Regions from separate parts of the Homo sapiens genome. Here region 2 is linked to region 1. The links are contacts of gene promoters, found by promoter capture Hi-C in blood cells and fetal thymus (Javierre and others, 2016). All regions are on one chromosome and are shown on one strand. The core of a region is centred on a gene start or on the middle of the fragment in contact, and the rest is flanking DNA. Distances in the headings are between cores, read along the strand shown.

The links. Contacts are between HindIII fragments. The CHiCAGO score rates a contact against its expected background, and 5 or more counts as called.
Region 2: a contact is called between a fragment that was not itself captured here and the fragment with the promoter of LRTM2 in region 1, in 2 of 17 cell types (naive CD8 T cells and naive CD4 T cells). The highest score is 5.4, in naive CD8 T cells.

What each region holds. Positions count from the first base shown.
Region 1 is chr12:1,819,280-1,821,992 of GRCh38, forward strand. It overlaps LRTM2 (leucine rich repeat transmembrane protein 2), which reads left to right and starts at 1,286. Exons shown (of 5, transcript NM_001039029.3): 1 at 1,286-1,535. The region is part of intron 26 of CACNA2D4 (calcium voltage-gated channel auxiliary subunit alpha2delta 4); the gene reads right to left. RefSeq lists an enhancer at 856-1,602. The HindIII fragment of the contact is 5,864 bases long and covers 1-2,713 here.
Region 2 is chr12:1,953,577-1,956,370 of GRCh38, forward strand. It overlaps DCP1B (decapping mRNA 1B), which reads right to left. Exons shown (of 9, transcript NM_152640.5): 6 at 1,856-1,984. Among named protein-coding and RNA genes, the nearest start is that of LINC00940, 18 kb to the left of the region's middle. RefSeq lists an enhancer at 481-1,680. The HindIII fragment of the contact is 1,383 bases long and covers 643-2,025 here.

The DNA of each region.
Region 1 (2,713 bases), core at 36-2,535:
GATGTGTGGGAGGCACCAGCATGAGAGGTCAGAGGCGGGACTCCCCAGAGGTAAAAGACACTGCAGCTCAAGCCTTGTGCTGCCCGGGGACCCGGCAGAACGGACAGAAGGGAGTGAGCAGGAGCATCCTTCTAGGGGCATCCTGAGTCCAGGGGGTTCTTCTACACCCACCCCAGTCCTGGCTGTGAACCCCTCCAGCAAAGCAGGCAAAATGGAAGAGGGACATAGGACACGGTGATATATCGCTAGCACGGTGCTTCATCTGTCTACAGGCAGTGGACGCAAAGGAAGGGGGATTTAGGGTTCGTGCTCCAGGCTGGTGGGGCCCTGGCTCCCCTCTAGCTTGGTCCCTGACTCACTTGGCCTTCAGATCAGCCACTTCCCATCTCTTAGGATATCAATTTTTCTGACTTGCTTTGTCCTGATTGGTTAAGAAAGAGGCCTCCAAGTTCTTGAATGACAGTCTCTTCCCTTCGCATGCCTGACCCATCACAGATAAGAGCAAGGAGCCCTGAGAAGCCAAGCTCGTCCCTGGCACTGAGAACGGTCTGCAGGCTGCTGCTGCAGGCTGCCCTGTGCCCAAACTCCCAGCCTGCCAACTCTGGCATTCTGCTTCCCTAAGTAGTCCTGGCGTCGGGTGGTCAGACCCTGAGGCTCAGTGACCTCTGCATGACCATGTGATCCCTGGCTTTGTGGGGGCTCAGGGCCCTTTCCTGTAGGGTCATCTGGCACATGGACATGCCTGTGTACCCTTCTTTCGTATGACCGAGAGAAGGGTTCGGTTTTTCCTTCTCTCAGGCAGGATGGGAGACTCTGCCTCGCATGTCTCTAAAACAGGAGAAAGACCAGCTTCCCAGGGGGGCCTCCATCGGAACAGAAGTCAGCCGCTTGCTCTGTGTCTGCGCCTGTCCCTCTTTCCCCAGATGGAGGGGAAGAGAGGAGAGAGGCACAGAAGACAGGTGCAGCCGGGGGGGTGAGGGAGAGCCTGGAGGCGCAGGATGGAAGATGGAGGTGGTGGTGAAACCGCTTTCCTCCTCCCTGTGGTCGGCAGCGATTCATCCACAGGCGCCTTTTTCCACTGAAATGTGAGCGTGGCCAGGGTGAGCGCTGCCCTCGCGGCCGGCCGTGGTGCCTCTGGTGTGCGCCTGTGTGTGCTGCTGCCGCTGTCATCACAGATGCACCCCAGCTGTCACTCCCCGCTCCACTCTGGCTCGCTGCTCGCGCACACGCGTGCGCTCTCCTCCCTCGCCCCTTTCTTCCCTCTCTCCTCTCTCTCTCTCCCTCCATCCCTCTCTTTCCTTCTCAGTTTGTGACTGACCCAGCAGCCCCGTCCCCCGTCTGCCACAAGCAGTCCACCTCCTGGTGCTGTGTGCTGCGTGCCAGCCGCTGCTCCCGCTGAGTGGAGACTCTGGCACCAGTGCCCACTGCGCTCTGCCTGCCGGTGGTGTCTGGATTTCTATAGGAATCCCAGGAGGGTCTTACTGGAGGGTTGAGAGCCACCTGATTGAAGGCGTTTGCAGTCAGAGTAAAGACGGGTGAGTACCGAGTGGCTGGTAGGAAGGAATGGAGGGTTGGTGGGGACAGGGGGTGGTCGGGGCATGGGAAGTGGGCACCGGCCATCTCTGCCCTGCAGGAATAGCTGCAGTTGCTTCCTACCTGCAGGCAATTGCTGGGGCCGAAGAAGCTGCTCGGGCTCAGGCACCTGAGCATCCCAAAGGTGCACGACACTGGGAACTCTGAGCCCACAGTGCTGGGGACAAGAGCTGTGGATTCTGCTGGGAAGTGGGGAGGAGGGCAGCGCTGGCGCCAGATGACAGTCCCGGGTGGCATAGAAACCGGTCCCTGCAGCATGGGAGAAGCAGCCAAGAGCCTTGTGCTGTCGTTGTGCCCGGCTCTGCACAGACAGCCCCAAGAAACTCGGGGGTCATGGGAAGCGGTTGGGATGGCAGTCAGGTGCTGGGGACAGGGCCAGGTCAGAGGAAGGCTTGGGGTGGAGGGTGGCAGGGAGGAGGTCCTGGATGTCAGAGGCATGGGCACAGACCCAGGTCCTGGGCCTCCCTATAGCTTGCCTGCAGGTGGCTGTCCTTGGACAAGGGTGTGGAGGAACCCTCCCCCAGATGAGCATGGGCCCACTCAGCTGTGCATGAAGCCTCCCTGGTGAGGGTGAGGCTGGGAGTGGGCAGGAGAGAGAAGTATCGCAGCCCTTCCCTGCTAGCCCAAGGGCAAGACAGGAGAACCAGGCCCGCGAGAACCTGCTGGGGTGTCCCGCAGCTGTGCACCCAGCCGTCCATCTGCAAATGGGTCAGGGAGCCTTAGTGGGGGCTGGACACTGAGCTTGGGTGGGGGGTACACAGCGGGGCCAGGCCTGCCTGGCTTCTTGACCCACACAGGGGGCATGGACACCCTGAGTAGAGCGGGACAGTTGCTCTCAATCCCCCAGACCCATTTGGACAGTGCTGGAGAGAGGAGCAGCCTGACCAGGAGTCGGAAGTTCACATTCCTGCACCTCCCTGCAGGTCTGGGGCTGGGTTCCAGTTGGCGGCCCTGTCTCTCCCCCACCCCCAAGCTGTCCACATTTCTGGGGGGTGTTGGCACCCGGCTGTCAGGGCTACTTGGGCAGTGTCTCTTTGTGACTCAGATGACACCCCTGCAGCTTAGATAACTGCCTCAGGTGGGGGCGGGGAGGGAGCCGAGCACGTGGAGCTGAGGCGGG
Region 2 (2,794 bases), core at 84-2,583, 130 kb after region 1:
CACCTTGGTAGGAAATTATATGCACTAAAAAAATAAACAATCTGTTCAATAGGAAGCCCATCTAAGCCTGCAGAGTAATATGAGAATACAAAGGAATATAAGCATTTCAGAATTTCTAGTAGTTTTTCACAGAATTATGGAAATCAAGGGCTGGAAAGAAACGGAAGACTTTAAATCTAACTTGATCCTTTCAAATATATACTGGTAGGATTTAAAAAGTCCTTGGATACATAAAATCTACCTTGGCCCAGCCAGTTACAAAGCTACTTCCTTCTTGCTCTTTACTTCTGTTGCTTTCTGCATTGTTGCACTGAGAAAACATGAGGCTAGGCACAGTGGCTCATGCCTGTAATTCCTGCACTTTGGGAGGCCAAGGCAGGCAGACTGCTTGAGCTAAGGAGTTCAAGACCAGCCTGGGCAACATGGCAAAACCCCATCTCTACAAAAAATACAGAAATTGCCAGATGTGGCAGCACACGCCTGTAGTCCCAGCTACTTGGGAGGCTGAGGTGGGAGGATTGCTTGAGCCCAGGAGACACAAGTTGCAGTGAGCTGAGATGGTGCCACTGCACTCCAGCCCGGGTAACAGGAATGAAATCTGTCTCAAAAAAAAAAATAAAAGAGGAAAGAAAAAAAACCACAAGCTTCATTTTAAAGTCAACATATTCAGGTCTCGCTATTAAAATATAATAAAAACTTTCCATAAAACAAGCAATAAAAAGAAAGCTAAAAAATTAGAAGACTTCTTTTCTTTAAAAATTCAATATAAGATTTTCATTACTAGTCTTTATGTCTTTTGGCTCCATGTTCATTTTCAAAATTGATATAAACTAATTCCTTTAAGAAAATCTTTTTAATTAGTCATAGTCATGATAAAATGACACAGCAATATTATATTTACAATCATTAATGGGACCTACAGATTGACAATTTTTGTCATTGCTGTACTATTCTGAAGTGTATATATATATATATATACACTAACACAAAAGCTGCTGTAATATTTCTAATTTAGATTGCAAAGACAGTGACAAGTCATCATATCTGAAGAGGAGTTTTATACCATTCCTTTGGACTCTGAGCTCTCGGCGGCAGCTACCCCAGTCTACAGTGCTAGCTCTGCATCTGGCACAGAGGAGGTGCTCAGAAGTGCTCAAATCAACTCTGTGTCCTTGGTGGTTCTCCCAGGTGGCCTTGGGAAGCCACCCACCCCAGAAGAATATGGACCCAATGGGTAATGTTTCTGTCATCTCTGACAATGTTATTAGTTTTCTAGGGTGCTTGTTTGTTTGTTTTTGTTTTCTGAGACATGGTCTTGCTTTCTTGCCCAGGCTGGAGTGCAGTGGCGCATTCCATAGCTCACCGTAACCTCAAACTCCTAAGCTCAAGGGATCCTCCCGCCTCAGCCTCCAGAGCAGCTAGCACTACAGGTGCACGCCATCATGCCTGGCTAATTTTCCTGTAGAGATGGAGTCTCACTGTGTTGCCCAGGCTGCTCTCAAACTTCTGGCCTCAAATGATCCTCTCGCCTCAGCCTCTCAAAGTGCTGGGATTACAGGCTTGAGCCACTGTGCTGGCTTGTTGTTTTTTAAAAAATACATTATCTTTTAAGGAGTTCAAGTTCACAAGAGATTAGCACAGAATGTGGTATATGCCAAAAGTAAAAACTTTAACCCTCTTCTAGGAAGAGTAAGTTATTAATAATGAAAAAATCTGTATTCTGAAATCCCGCTTTCTTGGGTTTACCTGAAAGCATTCTTCAACAACACCAGGCCCTCCCCTGACTATATTCTGGGTCAAAGTTCTTTAAGAATTCTAGAGACACACTGAATATGACAAGCAGAGAACTCCGTACCTGGTTGGGCTGAGGTATACGCTGTTGCTGGTTTTCACTGGGTTTCACTGGAATTGGTTTGATGAGATTTGGATTGTCATAGATGGCAGAGGAACTGGTTATCTTTTTTGGCTCAGAACAGGTTTTACACTGAAATAGAAAAGAAAATCCCCTCATTTTTGGCTTAGAAAAGCTTTAGTCTTTTTAAAAGACTACCTTTTTACTTCTTATCTAATTGGTAGACGGCTGTGTTTTTGATAGATTTTCATGCACAAAGGAAAATCCCTTAAATTTCTCTAAGAGCTATGTTTGAGTATAAATCAAGTTAAAATTTAATTTTTCTTAGTTGGACAATTCAGTGCTCTAAATATTACTAACAACACCAGCCTCCAGGACCAGGGGTTCTTAAGACACCTGTATAATTGAAAGGTTCTGTGCTTAATATATTGACTATACGTTTAAATATATATAGTCTAATGTCTTTCAATGATAAACAAATATAGAAACCATTCCTTAAATAACATGTCTGGACAATTTAAGCAGTTGACTTAAAATTGGAGAGTAGTTGAGTACATTTCATCAAAGTAACTAAATCTTTTTTGGTCTACAAACCAAAAAGCTGACTCAAACCACTGATTTAAAAATTACTAACATCATCTTTATTTAATAAATGACTTCTTGCATAAACAGAGTAATTCAAATCTGAGCGTTCTGAGCTACTTACTACAAATTAGAATTTTGTAGAGAAAGAGACAAGAGACAAATCTCATCATTTCCAACACTGACTCATTATTATACATTAATCTAACCAACCATGCAATTGCTAACACAGTAGGATTCATAACAAAAAGAGCATGGCAATGATACTGGTGTCTAGTTTGCTAAAACACTAAATAAAACAATATAAAATGCTGCTTTCTGTACTACAGACTCTCTGAAGCATCATTTGTTTCCACTGTA